Linked DNA regions of Homo sapiens: region 2 is linked to region 1. Evidence: promoter capture Hi-C in 16 types of primary human blood cells and fetal thymus (Javierre and others, 2016). All regions are on one chromosome and are shown on one strand. Each heading gives the region's core, a stretch centred on a gene start or on the middle of the fragment in contact. The rest is flanking DNA. Distances are from core to core; before and after follow the strand shown. Region 1 holds the start of SEPTIN12 (septin 12). Region 2 overlaps HMOX2 (heme oxygenase 2).

Region 1 (3,765 bases), core at 405-2,904:
AGGCTGCAGTGAGCTGTCATTGTGCCTCTGCACTCCAACTTGGGTGACAAAGTGAGACCCTGTCCCAAAAAAGAAAAAAAAAAAAGAAAGAAAAGAAAGGAGAAAAGAAAGAAAAAAGAAAGAGAAAACATTTGCCAATAGCAAGGACACAGGAATGCCTAAGCCTTGTGAAGTCAAGTACCAGGAAACAAGAAAGAATTAACTGTGTGAGATGGACTTGGTATAAGAAACAGCTTATCAGGCTGGGCATGGTGGTTCACGTCTGTAATCTCAGCATTTAGGGAGGCTGAGGTGAGAGGATCACTAGAACCCAGGAGTTTGAGACCAGCATGGGCAACATAGTGAGACCGTGTCTCAAAAAAATTTTAAAAAGGGCTGGGCGCAGGGGCTAACGCCTGTAATCCCAGCACTTTGGGAGGCCGAGGAGGGCAGATCACGAGATCAGGAGATCGAGACCATCCTGGCTAACACAGGGAAAACCAGTCTCTACTAAAAATAGGAAAAAATTAGCCGGGCGTGGTGGCAGGCGCCTGTAGTCCCAGCTACTCGGGAGGCTGAGGCAGGAGAGCGGCGTGAACCCGGGAGGCAGAGCTTACAGTGAGCCGAGATCATGCCACTAAACTCCAGCCTGGGTGACAGAGCGAGACTCCGTCTCAAAAAAAAAAAGAAAAAAAGGAAAAAAGAAAAAAAAAGGCCAGGCATGGTGGCTCACTAATCCCAACACTTTGGGAGACCAGGGTTGGTGGATCACTTGAGGTCAGAAGCTTGTGACTAGCCTGACCAATGTGGTGAAACCCCTTCTCTACTAAAAATACAAAATTAGCGTGGTGGTGCACACCGGTAATCCAGCTACTTGGGAGGCTGAGGCAAGAGAATTGCTTGAACCCAGGAGGCGGAGGTTGCAGTGAGCCGAGATCGCGCCACTGCATTCCAGCAAGGGCAACAGAGCGAGGCTGTCTCAAAAACAAACAACAAAAAAAGAAACAGCTTATCAGAGAGACAGTAAGGCAGGGGTGAGGACCACAGTCTGGAAAGCACATGGCCTATTTAAAGAGGGCATCTCAAGTCAGGGTGATAACCTCTAAGATACACCGGAAATCTAGATGTTTCTGTAAACCAGAAAAAGGCAGTAGAGGGTGAGCACACAGACTCAGAGCGGCAGAGACTCTGCCACCTCCTCACCTGACCCTCTCTTATCTATCAGCTTGGGGTAGTAACAGCACTTACTTCACAGGGCTTGATTATTAAACAAGTTAACATCTTTGGGCTCCTAGAACGATGCCATGTGCAGAGTCAGGACTGGGTAAATATTTGCTAAAGCAATCTCTTCATGTTTTTGACGCTGCAACTTAAAACACATGGCGCCAATCGTGGACACGGATATCCCGCTAGCCAGCTGTGGGGCCTGGGTTTGCTCACCCCAGCAGAGTGGTTGAGGGCGTCAGCTTGGAGGTGGGAGCCCAGCTGACGAGGGGGCCTTGGGCCCCTGGTTCTACTTGGGGATTATTGTATTATTAGGCTGGGGTCATTGTGGGGATTAGAAGGGTAACAGCTCCTGCTCCTGCTGCAGAGAAGCCTCCAGGTGGGGGTCACAGCAAGTGCAGATGGAGCTCAGATTCTTCGGTTAACTGTCACCCTCTCCCCTCCCCCATCACACACACCAGGCCCTGCCAGGACAAGGCAGCTCCTGGAAGCTCCACCAGGACCCACGTCCACCAGGTGTCACAGCAGGCTGCTTCTCTCTCTCTCTGCCCCCCGTGGGCTCTTCGCACCGCTCCCTCCCAGCCATCTTCCCTGCCTGACCTTGGTCTCTCTCTCTCTGTCTCCGTCACCTTCATGCCTGTGCCGTCTTTCTCGCTCTCTATCAACTCTGCTGTGTGTCCCCCTGGGGAAAGTGGGGGCACCTCCTCCTGAGCCCCCTGCCCAAGTTTCCTGCTGGGACGGGAGCCACTTCACCCCATACACACTCCCTGAAGCCCCTCCAGGACTCCAGCCTGGCTGCAAACACCCATCCTGGACTTTGCCTGGCCCTCCAGGCTCTGCTGGGGGAAGCGACCTGAGAGGCCCCTGCCTGGGCTGTAGGTGGGGACAGGGCAGACCCTTGGGCAGCGGAGCCTCTCTGGATGGGTGTTGAGGCACCCTGCAGAAACAGCTCCCCACAGGCACCCTTGCCACACCCCTGGGACTACAGGCACTTAGGGTACACCAGAGGCATGAAGTGTGGAGGGGGTTGGCCAACGGCCAAGCTCAAATAGGGGTTCAGATAGGAGAGGTCAATGTGGGCTCCTCTGAGCCCCAGTGACCCCCTTCTCCCCACCCACCTGGTGACAGGCATCTCGAACCCTTGGCCCCCATGGACCCCCTGAGGCGCTCCCCCTCTCCCTGCCTGTCCTCGCAGCCCTCCAGCCCCAGCACCCCACCCTGCGAGATGCTTGGTCCTGTGGGCATTGAGGCTGTGCTGGACCAGCTGAAGATCAAGGCTATGAAGATGGGGTTTGAGTTCAACATCATGGTGGTGGGTGAGTGAGAGGTAGGGCCCACGGCAGGACAGACCCACAGTGCTACGCGTGCCTGGGCGTGTGGCCTCACCTTTGGCAGCCTGTCGCCCCTCCCCATCTCTTAGGTGGGCCTGATAATAGCACCTCACAGGGATGTTGTCATTGAAAATTTGAGAAATGCTGAGTCATTAAAAGACAAAAATGTGCCTGGAGCGGTGGCTCACACCTATAATCCAGGGTTTTGGGAGACTGAGGTGGGTGGATCACTTGAGCTCAGGAGTTTGAGACTAGCAAAACCTAATGTCTACAAAAAGTACAAAAATGAGGCCGGGCATGGTGGCTCAAGCCTGTAATTCCAGCACTTTGAAAGGCCAAGGCAGGAGGGTCACTTGAGGTCAGGAGTTCGAAAACAGCCTGGCCAACATGGGGAAACTCCGTCTCTACTAAAAATACAAAAATTTGCCAGGCGTGGTGGTGGGCGCCTGTACTTAGGAGCTACTTAGGAGGCTAAGGCAGGAGAATTGCTTGAACCTGGGAGGCAGATGTTGTAGTGAGCCGAGATTGCGCCACTGTACTCCAGCCTGGGTGACAGAGCAAGACTGAAGCAGAAGGATCCCTGGAGGCCAGGAGTTCATGACCAGCCTAGGCAACACAGCAAGACCCCATCTCTACAAAAAAAATTTAAAAATTAGCCAGGCATGGTGACATGCACCTGAATCCCAGCTACTTGGGGGGCTGAGGTGGGAGGATCGTTTGAACCTGAGGGTGGAGGTTGCAGTGAGCTGCGATCACTTGAGTCTGGGTGACAGATTGAGACCCTGTCTTAAAAATTAAAAAACAGTGCAAGGCCGGGTGTGGTGGCTCACGCCTGTAATCCCAGCACTTTGGGAGGCTGAGGCAGGCGGATCATGAGGTCAGGAAATCAAGACCATCCTGGCTAACATGGTGAAACCCCGTCTCTACTAAAAATACAAAAAAATTAGCCAGGCGTGGTGGCGGGCGCCTGTAGTCCCAGCTACTTGGGAGGCTGAGACAGGGGAATGGCGTGAATCTGGGAGGCGGAGCTTGCAGTGAACCGAGATCCCACCATCGCGCTCCAGCCTGGGTGACAGAGCGAGACTGCGTCTCAAAAAAAAAAAAAAAAAAAGCAGTGCAAAAATCAGCTGGGTATGGTGGCGTGTGCCTACAGTCCCAGCTACTAGGGAGGCCGAGGTGCGAGAATCACTAGAGTCTGGGAAGGTCGAGGCTGCAGTGAACGGGGATTGCA
Region 2 (3,895 bases), core at 644-3,143, 280 kb after region 1:
AGGCTTGCTGCACTGTGCCGACTGCTCCCAGGGTGACGGCCTGTGCCCAGTGCGGAATATGGCCCATAGAGAGGATGCTGTCAGGCAGAGGCTCTAGCATCTGGCTTTTATTGGTTGCCTTTCTTAAACCCAGCATTTTTTAAAAAGTCACCTGAGGTGGTAGTTTAGTCAGGGCTGGAGAAAGGGGTAGGCCAGTGGTCAGTCGGGAGGAGGGTACCGGTGTGGCATGATGGGTGCTTCACATGTAGTACCAGGCCAAGAGTCCAGCAGCTAGGGCCACACCAGCGGCCAGGATGAACTGGAGGCTGGGCTTCCTCAGCACAGCCATAGCTGTTCGGAAGGGACAGCTGCTGCCCTCCAGGGCACCTGTGTGGCAGCACCAATAGGAGACATGGCATCAGTGGAGTCTCCTGCTACACCTGCCCCAGGAGGGGAGCTCAGGACACACAGACCTACCTTTGTCTTGTTCAGCAGCGTAGAAAGGGCATTTACGCATGTCTCCTTTCCCATCGTGTACAGGGAACCCATCCTCCAAGGTCTCTCTGGCCAGTGTGGAGCCGGCCTGGTCCAGTTCATTGAATATCTGCAGGAGCAGAGGATCGACTGAGCCATCTTTGGGCTGCCCATACTTTTTTTTTTTTTTTAAATGTCTTTTGAGATGAGGTCTCTGTTGCCCAGGCTAGAGTGCAGTGTTATGAACATGGCTAACTCACTGCAGCCTCAAACTCCTAGGCTCAAGTGGTCCTCCCACCTTATCCTCCTACGTGTGTGTACCACCATACCTGGCTAATTTTTAAATTTTGTGGGGAGATGGTGTCTCACCTTGGTTGCCCAGGCTGGTCTTCAACTCCTGGGGTCAAGTAATGCCCCTGCCTCAGCCTCCCAAAGTGCTGGGATTACAGGCATGAGCTACTGCGCCTGGCTACACTCTCCTTTTAGAGGACGCCCTCCAGAGAGAGTGAGCTGGAGCAGGTGAGCTTGCTCAGGTGTGCCAACTACACAGCAAGCAGCACTGGTGGGCGGCAGCTGCACTGCCTGATGGTCTTCCCTCCCTAGCAAGAGCTCTGGGGAGGTGTGGATATTGGTACCCCAAGAAGGCTGCCAAATGCTGGGTCTCCCCTGGGAACTGACCAGAGATGTAGCCTTCTCTGAGGTGGCTCAAGCCACTGAAACTACCACAGCACAGACAGGAGGGCATGAGTACATCCCCATTTCTAGGTGCTGGTTATTTTTTTATCAAGAAGCAACAGAAAACCTGGAACATGGGAGAATGAGACTGTGGCAGGGCATACTCATCCTGAGTGCCCTGGGAGGCCTCAGTGGAAGCTGACAGGACCTGGGGACAGAGTAAGCTTCCCCAGGTTCAGCCTCATCTAAAGGCTACTTGTAAACAGAGCTTATTTACTCTCCTTGGTGGCACTGGCTCTCTATTAACTTATAAAGCAGGGCTTCTCAGAGCAAAACTTGAAAAGAAAATTAACCATTCTTCAAGACCAGCATCCTGCAATGAGGGAGGAAGCCAGCTCCATTCTTCCAGACCCCTCTATGTGCGAGAGGACTCACCCTTCCCAAAACACTACCCACTGGCATCTATCACACCAGGCCTCCATGCTGGGAACCACCCACTGGGCCCACAAGCTCTGGTGGCCAATCTGGTGGCCACCTTCCTCTCGGCACCCTGCAGCTCATCTGTCCTAATGCCATGTGTGCCTTCATGGGCCACTATGGATCTGCTACCACTGTCAAAGTTTCCCTCTTCAGCCCTAGCAGCTGGCAGCCCCCAATAGTACCTGCATGTTATACTCAAAAGCCTTGTTGGCCTCCTCCACGATCCTCTCTTTGGTCTTCATGTTCAGGTCCAGGGCGTTCATCCTGGCCCGGTAGAGCTGCTTGAACTGCTGGGCATTGTCCACATTCTCAAACAGGTAGAACTGGGTCCCTTCCCCTGTGCTGGGGAGTTTCAGTGCTCGCTGGGCCACCTTCTTCAGCACCTGGCCCCCCGAGAGATCCCCCATGTAGCGGGTGTATGCATGGGCCACCAGTAGCTCCGGCTCGTTCTGCCCTATGTAGTGGATCCGCTCCACGTACTTCTGGGCAGCCTTGGGGCACTGCACCTGCTCCTCCCAGTTTTCACCAAAGAAATACTCCATGTCCTTGGTCAGCGCCTCCTTCCGGTGCAGCTCCATGGGGAAGTACAAAGGGGCAAAGGCTGGATGGTCCTTGTTGCGCTCCATTTCCTCCTCGAGGGCTGAGTATGTGAAGTAAAGTGCCGTGGTGGCCAGCTGTGGAGGTGACAGGAGGAGGCCAGCTATGCCTGAGCACACCACATCCGAGCAGCTGGATGCAGAGGCTCAAGTGACAACCCCCAACCCCAAAGACCCAATCCTATGGTCCATTTTTATGTAGTGAATTATTTAACACACAAGGAAGCTTTTGTTTCTTAAAGGAATGGCATGGTGAAGTCTTTGGAACACGCATACTTTTGCTTCCTTCACACCACTATGTTATTCTATCTAAGCCATGAGAACCAATTTTTTTTTTTTTTGGCGGGGTAAAGAGTCTCGCTCTGTCACCCAGGCTGGAGTACAGTGGGACGATCTCGGCTCACTGTAACCTCCGCCTCCCAGGTTCAAGTGACTCTCCCACCTCAGCCTCCCAAGTAGCTGGGAGTACAGGCACGCGCCACCACACCCGGCTAATTTTTGTATTCTTAGTAGAGACAGGGTTTCACCATGTTGGCCAGGCTGGTCTCAAACTCCTGGCCTCAAGTGATCCACCTGCCTCGGCCTCCCAAAGTGCTGGGATTACAGACATGAGCCACTGTACCCAGCCGAGAGCCAGAGCTTAACGTCAAGAAGGAATGGAGTGTGGAGAAAAGCCCAGCTTTTCCCTCAGAGTGGCTCCAGGGGCACTTTTCTCATGGGACCAAGGCCCCCACCCCAACCCCATATGACAGTCTGGAACCCAATGCGGGGCACAAACCTTAAACAGCTCCTTCTTAATGTTGCCTTTCAAGAAGTCCTTGACAAACTGGGTGTTTTCTGCCCGGTCGTGTGCTTCCTTGGTCCCTTCCTTCAGGAGCTCCGAGAGGTCAGCCATTCTGTGGAGAGATGGGAGGTGTTTGTGTGTCAATTAGCCCTTCCCAGCTTTCCAGAAAGGACCATAGAGAGAAGATTGAGTCCACACCCCAAGGTGACCACCTGTTGTACTGGAGGCTGGGGCTTCTCAGACACTTCACTCCAACACAAATAGCAGCAACTTGTCAGGGAACACAGGACAAGCAGACATGACATTCTGCTCCAAGGACTCAGGACACAAGGGATAACTGTGGCCTGCTCCTTGAGAGTAGTACCCACGTCCATGTGTCTGTGTTGGGAACCACCCAAATGAGCAATGCTTTGCTTCTGTGGCCACCTAGTGGTCGAAGAGACACACATCTGTATTCCCTTCAGTATTTGCTGGCTTCTCTAAGAACAGCCTGCCTTGGAACGTGTCTTCTGGAATTCACACACCTCAGTAAGGCTGTGACCATGGGTCTCCTCAGATGGCCCTACTGCCTTCCTCCCACCTTGGACCCACAGCTTCTTTGAGACTATATGTGACTAGGACCAAGCACGGAAGGATGCAAAGGAGACAACCGAGAGGCTAGGGCCAGGACGCTGGGTTTGTGCTGCTTAACGAAATTACACAGTTGTAAAGGTGTGTGGATGGATGGACAAGGTAGAAAACATGTGATCCTAAAGATGGTGGTACTTGGGCAGGGGCTTACATGTGTCCACACAATCCATCTACAAGAGTGAGAAAAATTTGGCCTTATCATGGTCTGGCTTCTGCTGTCTTCTTTAGGAGATTAGCTCGTTATCATCCATGTGCTGAGAATCAATTTATTATTAGC

What was found. The method cuts DNA at HindIII sites, captures the fragments that hold promoters and counts their contacts. A CHiCAGO score of 5 or more calls a contact.
Region 2: a contact is called between a fragment that was not itself captured here and the fragment with the promoter of SEPTIN12 in region 1, in 4 of 17 cell types (naive CD8 T cells, fetal thymus, naive B cells and 1 more). The highest score is 6.7, in naive CD8 T cells.

What each region holds. Positions count from the first base shown.
Region 1 is chr16:4,786,234-4,789,998 of GRCh38, reverse strand. It overlaps SEPTIN12 (septin 12), which reads left to right and starts at 1,654. Exons shown (of 10, transcript NM_144605.5): 1 at 1,654-1,719; 2 at 2,332-2,519. The coding sequence starts at 2,354. It also overlaps a transcript of SMIM22 not described here. The HindIII fragment of the contact is 19,587 bases long and covers 767-3,765 here.
Region 2 is chr16:4,506,100-4,509,994 of GRCh38, reverse strand. It overlaps HMOX2 (heme oxygenase 2), which reads right to left. Exons shown (of 6, transcript NM_002134.4): 3 at 2,983-3,100; 4 at 1,791-2,282; 5 at 457-583; 6 at 1-366. The coding sequence ends at 239. Among named protein-coding and RNA genes, the nearest start is that of CDIP1, 31 kb to the left of the region's middle. The HindIII fragment of the contact is 1,078 bases long and covers 1,355-2,432 here.